Regions from separate parts of the Homo sapiens genome. Here all the other regions are linked to region 3. Evidence: promoter capture Hi-C in 16 types of primary human blood cells and fetal thymus (Javierre and others, 2016). All regions are on one chromosome and are shown on one strand. Each heading gives the region's core, a stretch centred on a gene start or on the middle of the fragment in contact. The rest is flanking DNA. Distances are from core to core; before and after follow the strand shown. Region 1 holds the start of THADA (THADA armadillo repeat containing). Region 2 overlaps PREPL (prolyl endopeptidase like). Region 3 holds the start of LRPPRC (leucine rich pentatricopeptide repeat containing). Region 4 overlaps PREPL (prolyl endopeptidase like). Region 5 overlaps CAMKMT (calmodulin-lysine N-methyltransferase).

The links. Contacts are between HindIII fragments. The CHiCAGO score rates a contact against its expected background, and 5 or more counts as called.
Region 1: the fragment with the promoter of THADA here is called in contact with the fragment with the promoter of LRPPRC in region 3 in 14 of 17 cell types (megakaryocytes, naive CD4 T cells, naive CD8 T cells and 11 more); the score reaches 10.6 in megakaryocytes.
Region 2: a fragment that was not itself captured here is called in contact with the fragment with the promoter of LRPPRC in region 3 in 12 of 17 cell types (activated CD4 T cells, total CD8 T cells, naive CD4 T cells and 9 more); the score reaches 11.5 in activated CD4 T cells.
Region 4: a fragment that was not itself captured here is called in contact with the fragment with the promoter of LRPPRC in region 3 in 1 of 17 cell types (non-activated CD4 T cells); the score reaches 5.1 in non-activated CD4 T cells.
Region 5: a fragment that was not itself captured here is called in contact with the fragment with the promoter of LRPPRC in region 3 in 5 of 17 cell types (total CD8 T cells, naive CD4 T cells, fetal thymus and 2 more); the score reaches 8.3 in total CD8 T cells.

Annotation. Positions count from the first base shown.
Region 1 is chr2:43,594,603-43,597,302 of GRCh38, reverse strand. THADA (THADA armadillo repeat containing) reads left to right here and starts at 1,265. Exons shown (of 38, transcript NM_022065.5): 1 at 1,265-1,372. The HindIII fragment of the contact is 4,194 bases long and covers 405-2,700 here.
Region 2 is chr2:44,348,025-44,350,724 of GRCh38, reverse strand. All of the region lies in intron 1 of PREPL (prolyl endopeptidase like), which reads left to right. Among named protein-coding and RNA genes, the nearest start is that of PREPL, 12 kb to the left of the region's middle. The HindIII fragment of the contact is 946 bases long and covers 902-1,847 here.
Region 3 is chr2:43,994,654-43,997,353 of GRCh38, reverse strand. LRPPRC (leucine rich pentatricopeptide repeat containing) reads left to right here and starts at 1,365. Exons shown (of 38, transcript NM_133259.4): 1 at 1,365-1,555. The coding sequence starts at 1,407. RefSeq lists enhancers at 1,088-1,367, 1,163-1,814 and a silencer at 1,468-1,787. The HindIII fragment of the contact is 4,663 bases long and covers 1,186-2,700 here.
Region 4 is chr2:44,323,769-44,326,468 of GRCh38, reverse strand. The region is part of intron 10 of PREPL (prolyl endopeptidase like); the gene reads left to right. Among named protein-coding and RNA genes, the nearest start is that of PREPL, 36 kb to the left of the region's middle. The HindIII fragment of the contact is 2,443 bases long and covers 142-2,584 here.
Region 5 is chr2:44,390,523-44,393,222 of GRCh38, reverse strand. The region is part of intron 3 of CAMKMT (calmodulin-lysine N-methyltransferase); the gene reads right to left. It overlaps LOC124905998 (a long non-coding RNA gene), which reads right to left. Exons shown (of 3, transcript XR_007086301.1): 1 at 1-2,700. Among named protein-coding and RNA genes, the nearest start is that of CAMKMT, 30 kb to the right of the region's middle. The HindIII fragment of the contact is 1,381 bases long and covers 605-1,985 here.

The DNA.
Region 1 (2,700 bases), core at 16-2,515, 400 kb after region 3:
AAGAGGCAGCAGGATGGATACATAATGAAGTATATTAAACAATGGAAAATTACGGTCCGGGCGCCATGGCTCACGCCTGTAATCCCAGCACTTTTGGAGACCGAGGCGGGCGAATCACGAGGTCAGGAGTTCAAGACCAGCATGAGCAACATGGTGAAACCCCGTCTCCACTAAAAAATACAAAAATTAGCTGAGCGTGGTGGCGCGCGCCTGTAATCCCGGTTACTTAGGAGGCTGAGGCAGGAGAATCACTTGAACCCGGGAGGCAGAGTTTGCAGTGAGCCGAGATCGCGCCACTGCACTCCAGCCTGGGCGAAGAGCACTACAGCCACCTGTAGGTGAATATGAAAAGCAATGCTGAAAGAAGCAAATTGCTGGAGAATACATACGCAATTCCAAAAGCTTCAAAATTGAACGAAACAAGATAGTGATACATACATTATGTGGTAAAGCTATAAAGAAAACCAAGGCAAGCTGATATAAAAAATTCAGAAAATAATTATTAAAAACTTAAGTCATTAACGTTTAGAGAACTGAAATGTCTCTATTTTCCAAATTAATACTCCTGATAATAGCATCAGGTCTTTCCTGATCTTGCCCACTGTCGCAGCTCCCAGTGACACCCCGTTATTGTATTTATTTTTCAAGGACTGAACCATCTGACAATTTGTATGTGCTGCGTAATACATGTATCCTCAGTAGGGGATAGCTTTCAAGGCTAGCGCTTGGCGACGCTCTGACAGTAGAGTTCATTATCTATTGAATGAATATATGCGCTTTGGCACACGTTGGTTCAGCACTACTCATTTTAGTCCGAATCCTTCTCGTGGCTTCCGTTCAGTCGCCGCCCAAACCCCTGCCCCATCTCGCAGGCTCTAAACTCCCTGGACTCGTTCCCGAGTCCCAGACGTAGTTTTCTCCTAGACTCTGCACTGGGCCAACAGAGTGGGAGAAAGGTGGAAGGTCTGGATTGGGAGAAAAGCGCTTCCCAGGCGTCCAAGCATGTGAAGAGAATGAGGTCTTTTCATTCAACAAGAGACCGTTGAATGAAGGCCCCTCAGCAACAAGGCCCGTCAGCCCTAACGCCATGAGGAACGCGCGGCGCTGACGGTACAGTGGCTGGTTAACTAAACCGGATTGCTACCGGCCACCCCGGTGACGTCACGACCTCCTCGAACTCCTGATTGGAGGAGCTGCGTTTGGTCAATTCTCGCGATGACTCCTCCAGGTTACCCCTCTCTCCCTCCCTTTGCCCTGACCCGGTAGTCGACCGTGGACCGCGCTGCGAGCCTCGGAGACGCCGTAGAAGGAGACCTGCTTCCGGGACTGGACCAGGCGCCTGCGACTCTTCTCAGACGCCGACGTGCACGAGGTTTGGCTCCCAGGTGTCCTGCCTGCCAGACCCGCGGTAGCTCGGCTCGGCCAGTTTTGCTAGGGCTGCCTGGCGAGCCACACCAATTCCCATCCTTTGGTATCGCCAGGATTCGGCGGCTGTGAAACTGATTTCCGGTCGCTAAGGTCTCCATGGAGACAGCACTTTAACCACTTTCTCCCACTGTCATTCCTCGACTCCACGTGGTTCAGAAATCGCCCAGAGAATGTTTGTGGGAGTCAGCCAGGAAGGTGTAGAGTGAAGCAGCGTTCTAAAGGGAAGCAGTAAGTGGGACCTAGGAGGAGTGTAATTTACTGGGCACCTTCTGGCCTTGCGGTAGACACGGGATTTACCCCCTTGGGGACCCTGGTTCTTCAGGACACACGTTTAGGCATCATTTGAGCAGGCATAATTACCGAGTCTGCTTTTGTGTAGCCCTCAGAATTGCAAGAGCAAATCCTCCTGCAAACTTGCTTACCTTTCACCAGAGAATAGTCTCCCTAGTTAGGTTTCCCAGTCTCTTCTGGCTTTGTACGATGGTCACTTTCTTAGGAAGCGTGCCTCTATTCCTCTAGATCTGACTATCCCTTTACAAATTATTCTGTTGTCGACACTTTCCTAGCTGCGTCCATTTTTGGTTAAGTGGTTGCTCACCTGCCATTACTGTATGGATTTCTTACTTCCCAAACAGACCATAGGTTCTTAAGATGTAGAATGTCACTTAGATGTAGAATGCATTTTAGGTACCAGATAGTCCACCTTCCTGCCCTTAAAGACATATATCCCTTCTAGAACATCTCTGACAAATGTTTGTTAATTAATTTGTTTATTCGTGAAGTGTTTGTTAAACACCTACTATGTGCCAGGCACTGGTTTGGAAATTGAGACTTGAAACATGAACAAAATAGATTAAAGTTGCTGCCTTCATTCAGTTTGCTACTAGGTGAGACAGACAATATACAAATTTACAAGTTAGGGTAATTTCTGGTACTAGTAAGTGCTATGAAGAAAATTAACGGAAATGGTGTCTACGTGTGTTGTATTGGTGAGATTTTAGATAGAGTGGTCATGGAAGGCTTTTAGAAGGTAATGTTGCAGCAGAAACATGAATGGTGAGAAGGAGTCAGTCTTGCAAAGATGTGGAATGAACATTAAGGGGCAGAGATACTGAGAAGTGTAAAGCCTCTTAGGTGGGAATAAGAGCATCAGGAAGTACAAAGCTCTTGAGATGGTGAAGAGGAGATTGGTTTGAGATGAAGAGTGGAGGAAGGCAGGGTCAGATTATTTAGGGCCTTGAAGGGCAAAATCTCAAGTATTTATTTATTTAT
Region 2 (2,700 bases), core at 125-2,624, 350 kb before region 3:
AAGAAGAGCAAAAGTCTGGGCTCTAGAGAAGGGGTAAGGAGAAGAATTGGAGGCAGAAGATGAAAGGAACAAGTTTCCTTCATTTAACAGTTGCTTTTAAAAAATAAAATGAGTTAACAGCAAATACAATTAGTTGTTTTACATGAACATTATTAAAATTTTGGAAATCTCATTGGTGTTTCATGGTTGCTAAATACCATGTATATGCTAATATGAATTAATTTCAGGTATTTTGATTACAGATTTAGTATATTTCTGTGTAAGATAACTGACAGAAACTATTAAGGAAGTTCCTCTCTATTCCTAATTTAAGGTTTTATCATTTTTTTAAAGTGTGATTATTTTTTATTTTTTCCCTGCATTTATCAAAAATGGCTCTAAGATTTATCTCCTTTATTTGTGTTAGATTACATTGATAGATTTTTTTCTGATGTTGGACCATCCTTTCATTCTTAGGAAAAAATCCTTCTTGGTCACATTAAGTTTAATTGGTATTACTATTACTGTTCTTATTTTGTGCTTTTTAAAATTAAAAATTTGATTTTATCAAGTTTTATTTTAGAATAAGATTGATTTTTTTAATTGTCTCATATCATCATTGTCTAATTTTGATGTCAAGGTTATATTAGCCTAATAAAATGAGTAGTTTTACCTCTTTTACTATTTTTTTAAATAGTTGACGTATGAAAAGATTAGCTGTTTCTTGAAGATCCAAGAAAGCTACATTTGAAAGCATCTGGGCTTGGTGTTTCTTTCAAGAAGGGGACATTTAGTTAGCAATTTAATTTCTTTAAGAGTTAGTGACTTATATAGCTTTTCTATTTCTTGGGTCAATTTTGGTAATTTTTCTTCCTGGAAAATTACCCATTTCATTTATTTTCAAATAGATTCACATAAAGCTTATTGTAATTTTTAAAAATCTCTGTTGTATCTGTAATTATGCCTTTTTCTCTCCTCGTATTCTTTTTTCTTGACCTCGTGATCCACCCGCCTTGGCCTCCCGAAGTGCCGAGATTACAGGCGTGAGCCACCGCGCCCGGCCTCGTATTCTTTTTTCTATCAGTTTTGTGATGTTTGTTTTTTAATAGGTTTCTAAAAGAACCAACTTTTAATTTGATTCTCTTTAGTTTCTTTGTTATCAATTTAATTTCAAAAATTAATTTTCTTACCTTTCTTCTACTTCCTTAAGACTTACTCTTTTTCTGTTTTCCTAAATTGAAATGCTTCATATTGCATTCTGTTTTTCAATTGCTGTGGATTTATGTTTTTTCAATGTATTATTTATTATTTATTATTCTTTTTGAGGCTCCAGTTGTCCAAAATGTGGCCTGTAGAAACCCCTTCAGTTGACACTTGTATTCTTTTGACATGTCTCCATTAAACTTTGAGCACTTCCTTATTTTCTGGCATAAGATTTCCCAAACCTACCATGTATTTTCTCCCTGCTCTAGCCTTAGAATTAGCCATTTACTAATGGCTAATTAGTCTTGACTGAAGGGCTGTCCGGTGTCTTTCTACTTCACCATTTTTTCTATCTTTAGAGTTCAGCATCTTTGCCATGATAAAGTTAACACATATCATTCTCCTTCTATTTTATAACAGCTTTCATTGTTAAAATGATTTAGTGGTGGGTCACTTGGGGAGTGGGAAGGAGTGCTTCTTTTTACCACTAATGGAGTGATACTGTACCAGTAACCTTCTCAAAATCTGAAGGTAAAGCCATCCTTACCTCAGCTCCATTGGGTAGTATATGCCTTTGAAACAACTGGACTAAGATACCTGGCTAAAATGGATGGCTTTAGCTGTGTACGCTAATGATATTGCTAGCTGAAATTGAAATGAAAGCTTAAAACACTGAGCAGGTATCCCTGGGACGCAACAAAAACCAAAAGTAACCTGGAGTACTTAATGAATATTATATAAAACCTCAGTTTCCATGGGAGTAATTCCTTTAGAAGAGTTACTTAGAAAGCTGTTGAGTTCTGCTTGAATTTCGTTAAGGGAGTCAAAAATCCTATTGCTTTCAGAGTTATTTTGGTTCAGATAAGCTCAGTTTATTTGGATATATGACAGAAAAAATGTTAATCAGGAAGGAATGTAAAGTTAAGAAGATGAGTTTTGGAGCCCGCTCTGTTGCTTTTGGCTCTGTGTTGGCTATGACTCTCAGTAAGAATGAGTATTTAAAAGTGACAGAACCCAGCTCCATGACCTAGAATGTGCTAGAAGCTACAGGGTAGTAGAGAGATAATCCTGACTCTACTTCAAAAGTTTTAATGGAAATTACAGAACAGACAATCCTGAATCTAGAAATGCAAAGGCAGCTCCTATTGCTATTTTACAGTTTCAGAATAGATTTTTAGTCATCTTCTGACTTATGATGGTGATATGAGGGGATTATTGATACAGATATCATGTCTCACCACTTTAAAGATCAACTGTAGATTTTGTAGAAATGCTTTAAAAATGAATGAAAAATAAATATATAAGCCTCCAGTATTTGATCTTCAAATAATTACTCAAAAAATTAACTGTATGGAATGAGGAGGCACACACCTATCTATAGTCCCATCTACTTGGGAGGCTGAGGCAGGAAGATTGCTTGAGCCCAGGAGTTTGAGTCCAGCCTGGGCAACATAGTGAGACCCTGTCTCTTAAAAAAAATTCAGAAAATTATATGATAGTAAGTAGAGGCTAAATGAT
Region 3 (2,700 bases), core at 116-2,615:
CACTGGGTAGGTGTATGGCCTACAATAAGAGATCACAGTCCCTACTGATAAGGAGTTCGTGGGATTAACTGATAAGGAGTCCAGTGGGATAAACAGTCACTTCGGAAATGACCGTGGGAGGGCTTCCAGAGGAAATACCCGCCGCGTTTGCCTCGTGATAGGTAGGGGACAGGCAGGTGTAGAGGGAGTGGAAGGCTGTTCTCAGCTTCCCACGTGTGCACAGGGAACCGATCCAGTCTGTAAGCCCTGTGAAGGCAGCGACGTGGTTTTTTTGTTTTGTTTTAGACAGAGTCTCGCTGTGTCACCCAGGCTGGAGTGCAATGGCGCCATCTTGGCTCACTGCAACCTCCACCTCTCGGGTTCAAGCAATTCTCCTGCCTCAGCCTCCCGAGTAGCTGAGATTACAGGCGCCCGCCACCACGCCCGGCTAATTTTTTGTATTTTTAGTACAGATGGGGTTTCACCATGTTGGCCAGGCTGGTCTCCAACTCCTGACCTCAGGTGATCCACCCGCCTCGGCCTTCCAAAGTGATGGGATTACAGGCGTGAGCCACTTCGCCAGCGATGGGTTTAACTTGCCAGTTTTCTCCCCATATTTGGCTGGAGACTCTTAATTACATTGTTCTTTTACTTCTCACATGTATATGTGCATTTACTGAAGGGAGAGGCGCGGTAGGGGTGGAGGGTTGGGGAAGAGAGTCAGTTCAATTCCAGCTTTAAAACTATAGGATTTTTGGTAGAATTCATTTATTTTCTAAAGCGAGGCCCCGCGTACGCGCTTAGGGTGGGGACCTGCGCGTTCCTTTACACTGTTCCCAGGCCCTGATAATCCACATCCTATCATGTTGAACCTGGGAGGCAAACGGCAAGGTGCAAAAGACCTCCACGGTTTCTCCGGCCCGCGTTTCTGAGAGTGAAGGGCCGTTCCTATTGGACATGGCGTCAGGGCTGAACGTTAGCAGCAACATCTGCACTCGGGGGCGGGGGAAACCTTCCCACGTCCTGGGATCTTCATAGTCGGCTCTCCTCGAGAGTTCTCGGTATTTTTACTAGTTGGCCTCCCACAAGCCTCTGCGCCAACCTGGGAGGAGTTGACCTCTTGCGGCTCTACCAACAGAGGAGTGCAGGGGTGCAGCGAATGAACACGATGCCCAGATCGGAGACGGAAGACGGAAAAGAAAAGCTTCGATAATGAATCAAGCAACATCGTTTATGTAAATATTACATTGGGTCTTCTGTCCTCGGAGAAGTGCGGTTTTCCATCTTCCAACCTAAAACAATCCGTCGCTCCCCCCACATTTGGCACGCCCGGCAGTTGGTCTCTGCCGCGCCAGGCTACCCTGCGGTCACATGCTCCTCCTGTCCTTCTGGCGGAGCGTGCTTCCCGCTGCGGGGACGTTCGAGCAATGGCAGCCCTGCTGAGATCCGCGCGTTGGTTGCTGCGTGCCGGGGCGGCCCCGCGCCTCCCGCTCTCCCTGCGCCTCCTCCCTGGCGGCCCGGGCCGGCTGCATGCCGCCTCCTATCTGCCCGCCGCTCGCGCCGGGCCCGTGGCCGGGTGAGTGCCCAGGCCCTTTCTCCAGGCAAGCTGCGGCGCCAGGGTCCCCCGGGGTCGTGGGTGCCGGCAGGGACCGGGTCCTGCCTGTGCTCGCCACCCTTCTCCCCGCCCCAGGACCTAGCCTCCCCGGGCTCCGCACCACGCTCCCTACCAGGGGTTTTCGGGTGACAGGGTTAAGCGCCTTCAGAAGGTCACGGCTGTGGGCATGGCCTGCCTCCGGCTTGAATCCTGCCCCCGCCACTTCAGCCTGGACCTTACTGCCCTCGGGGTACCCATGGTCAACGAAGATGAGGGGGGCTTTGAAGACTGCTTTGGGAAGTCGGGTGGTGGTCTTTTCCTTACACTTGGCCAGCTTGGGTGGTGTCCCACGTGCGGTCACCGTTGGTGATCAGTAACCACCTAGCATTTAGATATTGGAAATTTAGCTTTTTGCGAGGGATGGGGCGGCGAGGAGTGGGTTGGGAGTTTGGGTGAGCCACGGATGACTTAAAGCTGGACGCTGGATTATGATCACTTTGGGCTTTTGCCTGCGTTCTCTTGAATGGAGTTTTCCTTCAGCATTTAAGAAGGTGTTGCGCGAGTTGGGCTGGAGTGCAGTGGCGCGATCTCAGCTCACTGCAACTTCCGCTTCCCGGGTTCAAGCGATTCTCCTGCCTCAGCCTCCCGAGTAGCTGGGATTACAGGTGTGCGCCACCATGCCAGGCTAACTTTTGTACTTTTAGTAGAGACTGGGTTTCACCATGTTGGCCACGCTAGTCTCGAACTCCTGACTTCAAGCGATCCTCCTGCCTCGGCCTCCCAAAGTGCTGGGATTACAGGTGTGAGCCACCGCTCCCGTCCTGTAAGTGTCTTTGAATGAATGAGCACATGCAAGGCACTCTGTTGGAATCTGGGGATGCAAAGGCAAGTTAAACTCTAAGTGGGTGTCAGATAGGCGAATAAATGCTCTCATGGTTTGAGGTTTATCAGAGATAGGTTTGGTATAGACTTTTGTAGTGGAGGGGAAAAGAAAAGTTGGTGAAAGTGTTCATTTGGTTATTAATAGTATTCTGACCACCAGAGAAGGGGAGATAGGTGCTGAGCTTTTAGCATTGGAGAAAAAATGATTTTGAAAGACTGATGCTTGTAAATTAAGGTACTTTGAG
Region 4 (2,700 bases), core at 114-2,613, 330 kb before region 3:
CTCTTAAGAGGTTGAGGCTGCAGTGGACCACTGTGCTCCAGCCTGGGCAACAGAGTGAGACATTGTCAAAAAAAAAAAAAAAAAAGGAAAGAAAAACATTTCTGTTACAGTTTTACCATAGCATAGGAGTATAACAAAGCTTTTAAGTTTTAAACTCAGAATTATAGCTTGAGGAGAACTTCTAAAGTTATTTTAATCCAACTATTAACCGTTATTCTTCTCTGATACAGTGTTCTTTATTATCTTTAAGGCTTTCCACTGAAAGATATTAATGGCTATTTCCATTGCTCATTTGTATTTGTAAGGACATTTAGAATTGGTGAAAAAGCACTGAAGCATATATGAGTCCCAGTTGAGAAAGCCAGGCAAAGCACGCTGTGACTCTGGAATGCACTGAGTCCTTTGGCTCCTGGTCACCTTGACAGGCTACTGCCCATCAACATTTCAGTCCTAGATTTATAGGCTCTTTATTTTTAGATAGTCCATTCTTAATGGTCGTTTGGGCATAGTTTTTCCGTATTTTAATTGAAATATCTTACCCTGTTCTGAAAATGATTATCTTTTCCCAGTGTCAGAAATTACGAAGTTACATTGTAGCAGTTGGTTTCACTGCTATCATTCTCCTACTTCTAGGTTACTCTGAAAAATAATGACTGAGATGGGAGAGAGTAAATTATTTTCAGGATTTTTTATTTTGAGGTTGGGGAGTTTATACTGTGGGCTTGTAAATAAGTGTTAAATAGTAGTCACCTGTAAGTCTATTTTTTAAAAACAGAAAAATGTGGAGAATAGCCTATGCACAAAGATAATGGCAGAATTATTTACAGTTTAAAGACAAAGCAACTAGATTTTGACTTTTAGAAATTTAAAAGGAAATGATGAGAAGGATATTTATGCTAGGTTGCTTATTATAGTGAAGACTAGGAGACAACCTTTTATACATGTATAAGTCAAATTCTTCTTATAAGCACCAAAAATCAACCCTAATTTAAGCAGAAAAGGGATTAAAGGGCATTAGGAAAATGTAGGTGTCTTCAGACCAGTGTTAGAGGCTTCAGAGCCAAAGGCATAGAATTGGCCCAATGAAACTATTACTGCCGCCACTGCCAAGCACAAATCACCTCACACTGCCAGTGCAACTTCTAGAGCTGGATATAGCTGTGGCACTTTTGCCAGAATAAATTATCTGTGATCACTGCTTCTTTGAATCACTAACTTTCCATGCAGAGTGTAAAGCACATGTGTCTGGTTGATAGACCCAAGTCACACATGGGTCACACAGCTACTCCCAAGCTGCAGGGAAAAATGGGAAAGAGAAGTCTAGCACTTAGTATCTCCACAGTGAGAGGCAGGCTCTAGCTGATAAGGTTGGAGGTTTTTCAAATGCAAAAAAGTTCATATGGTAGGCAGCCAAAAAGAATTACAGATGACTCACTATACTTGGTTAATGTTAATATGAGGGAAAGCTAAAAAGTATGTTAACAGAAGAAAATAAAGCTAAGTGAAAAATACAGCCTTCATTTTTGTTTTGTTGTTTTTGTGGGGTTTTTGTTTTTTTGTTTTGTTTTGTTTTGTTTTTTGAGTCAGAGTTTTGCTCTTTCACCCAGGCTGGAATGCAATGGCACACGAACACAGCTCACTACAGCCTCGACCTCTGGGGCTCAGGTGATCCTCCCACCTCAGCCTCCTGAGTATCTGGGACTACAGGCATGTGCCACCATGCCCTGCTAATTTTTGTGGTTTGTTGTTGTTTTGTAGAGATGTGGTTTTACCATGCTACCCAGGCTAGTTTCAAACTCCTGGGCTCAAGTGATTTGCCCACCTCAGCCTCCCAATGTGCTGGGATTACAGGCATGAGCCACCATGTGCGACCCAGCCTTCGTTTTATTAAATTTTGTAACACTAATTATAAGCCAATGGGTTGTTTTCTCTTCTTTCACCTTGGGTATTTTGCAGAGTTTCTTTACTTAGCGTTTTTTGCTTTTAATATAAAATGTCCAACTGGTCAAAAAGACTTTATTCCTTGTGTATTTTTTTCATTTAAAAATTTTTAATTATGGTAAAATACCATAAAATTTACCATCTCAACCATTTTTAAGTGAATAGTTCAGTAGTGGTAAGTGCACTCATAGGCTTATGCAGTCAATCTCCAGAACTCGTTTTTCATCTTAACAAAACTGAAACCCTGTACCGATTAAACAGCTCTCCATTTGCTTCTTCCCACAGCCTCTGTCTCTGTGAATTTGACTACTCAAACACCTCACATAGGTGGAGTCATACAAAATTTTTTGTGACTGGCTTATTTCACTTAGATTATATCCTTGAGGTTCATCCATATTGTAGCGTGGATCAGAATTTTATTCATTTTTAAGGCTGAATAATATTCCATGTAATATTGCATGTGTATACCACATTTTGCTTATTCGTTCTTTGGTTAATGGACACTTGAGTTGCTTCCACCTTTTGGCTGTTGTGAATATGCTGCTGTGAACATAGGTATGCAGATCTCTTTAAGACCCTGCTTTCAGTTTTGGGGATTATATGCCAGGAGTGGAATTGCTGGATCATATGGTAATCTTAAGCTTAACTCTTTGATGAACCACCATACTGTTTTCCAAAGCAGCTCCCCCATTTTACATTCCAACCACCAGTGTATCAGGATTCCGGTTTCTCCACATTACTGCCAATACTTGTTGTTGT
Region 5 (2,700 bases), core at 46-2,545, 400 kb before region 3:
TTATTTTCCAAAATTAAAGAGATTTTTCCACGTCTTTTCACTTAGAGCATAAACCAATTCAGAAGGTAAGACTGATCCTTTCATCTCTGAAAATTTGCAATGAATATAATCATCCCCTGATATTCAAAATGAACTTACAATTGAAATTAATGGTTCTACTAAACCATGACCATACCTTTTTTTACTGTATCTACACATATCAGGTTTTTGTGACTAGAAAATGTTTTAGTTAAGCTGTTTTTTCTATTACTAGGAAGCATTATTAACCTAGAAACAAATTCTTAAAATAAATAGATAATTCCATCTCTTGGTTCTCTCATCTATTAGAAACTTTTTTCCTCATTCTAATTGTCCTTTAACATACTACCATGGTGGTGATTTATGAACTGATACTCTTGTATGGAACTTTCACTCTCTATCAAAAGTACTTCTTTATTTAAAGCTAGAAGTAGAAAAATTAAACTGATATTTTTAAAAATTAAAAAATCGGCCAGGAAAAATCTATTTTTTTGTATTTTTGAATTACTGAATATATTAAATATATTATAAATGAATCAAATAGAAATGTTTAGACACATCTTTATATGTCTACATGGTAAAAGCTTAGGGTTATTATTTGAGCTATTTATCCTAATTATATTGGGCTATGACAAAGAATTATGATTGTGGCGCCCTCTGCTGGGTTTTCTAGTCACAAACTCAATATCACTATTGGCATAATAAAATCAAATTTTTGAGGCATCAAGTGAAAAATCACTTTTTCAGTCCATGGTTACTTTACGTCCAAGATTATATAAAAGTCATAATCAATATTTACTTTATTGGAACAGGACTTTACCAATTTATCATTAAATGAAACATCTATATAGATTTTTCTGTTAAAATAAAAAGTAAACATAAAAGGTACACAAAACAACATATTTTAAGAGGTCTTATTTTTGTCACCACTTCTATCACTCAGCAATATATCCAGGTTTTTAAGGCAACATTTATAATGAGGCATTTTAATAAACAGCTATTTTGCTAATTTTATCTAATTTTTCTGCCCTGTTAGTTCAATTAAAATAGTATAAGACAGAATAATCCTAATAATATTATCTTCTTTATTAGGAAAAAACCAAAAGAGGTTATATAGGTACTCATCGCCAGTAATAATTAATAACTTTTATTGCATATCAACTCTCAGCCATGCAGTATGTACGTACTTTCTTTATAACACAGCCAGCCCTAAGAGATGAAAACAGTTGAGGTTCATAGAGATGATACAAATTGCTCAAGATGAATTTCAGAGCCAGAAGTCAAATGCAGGTGAGTATCATTCCAAAGTCTTAAACCTTTCTACCAAACAAGAGACAACAGTGAAAAAACACCCTGAATATGCAATATTTCCGTTTGTTCATGCAACAACAACACGGGGTATGGAACAAGTTGATGGGAAAAAATGTTAGAGAAGGCTAAGACAGTCATTCATGCCTAAAATAATAATTGATGCCTTTAGGAAATTATTTTTATTTTACATAATGCTGTCAGCTAGTGGCCCTATTTCATACGGAGCCAACTGGGAACAATACTTGACTTTTACATTACTGAATCAAAAATTCCACATTTAACATTCTAGAATCATTTTCTGAAATTACATATGTTTAAGCCTGACTCAATGATATTTAACATTACCCCAGAACTAAAAGAGTATGTATCCTCAACCATCATTGGTATGCTTTGCCCAGTCCTTGCCTAGACCTAATAAAAATATGAGATACACCTAAGTGGGAGAGAATTCACTAAATGCCAACATGGAAAAACTAAAAGGCATTCGGGTTCAAGTTGGTGTTTGGAAAATTTAAAAAAAAAGAAAGAAACTAAAAGGCACATCAGTCACTATCCATAAAAAAGAAACCTACATTATTTTAGGTATTTAGGATAATTTAAGGACATTTATAGATTCCTTAGTGAACCACAAATATTTTTCTATAAAATCAAAAGCTTATCATAATGTGGACATAAGAACAAAAGTGTTGTCTGAGTATTACTGAACACAATTCTATGCAAATCTATTTATTTGATAAAACTGCATTGTTAAGCCAAAGACACTACCTAAATTCAGCCAAAAGTTAACAGTTCTGAAATTTTCTTTGAGAAAAAGAGTATGAGTACTATTTTTACATTTAAAATGCTCATATTTCATTGACAATTCACTATCTTAAGAGAAATGTCCTATACAAAAAACATAAAAAGTCCATAGCTCCTATGATGGTATGCTGTTTAACTCAGTGACATAAAGGTATTCTTGGCTGATGTCTTTCATCACATGAAATTAATTACAAGAATTATAAGAAATATTTAAGTGATTTTCTCAGTGGACAAATCTATCACCAATTAATCAGAAGCTTTGATGAAAAGGCAATATATTCTGTAATATTGTAATACTGCATCAAACAAAAACACTCTGGTATTAATGTATAGTAGCATCAAGAAAAATATGTTCTGGGTTTATTCTACAGTGAAAGTAAAGAAGCAGGGAATGGCAAAGAAAGCACCCGAAACAAAGCAAAGAAGGAAGAAACAGCCCCACTACTGAATTAACTGAGGTCAAAATGGAAACAAAAATAAAAGGGACAGTACTTCAGTGTCCAGTGTTCTTTCTGACCTACTCTCTCCATCTCCCTCTCTCTCTCCCTCCCCCACCTCCCCCCCACACAC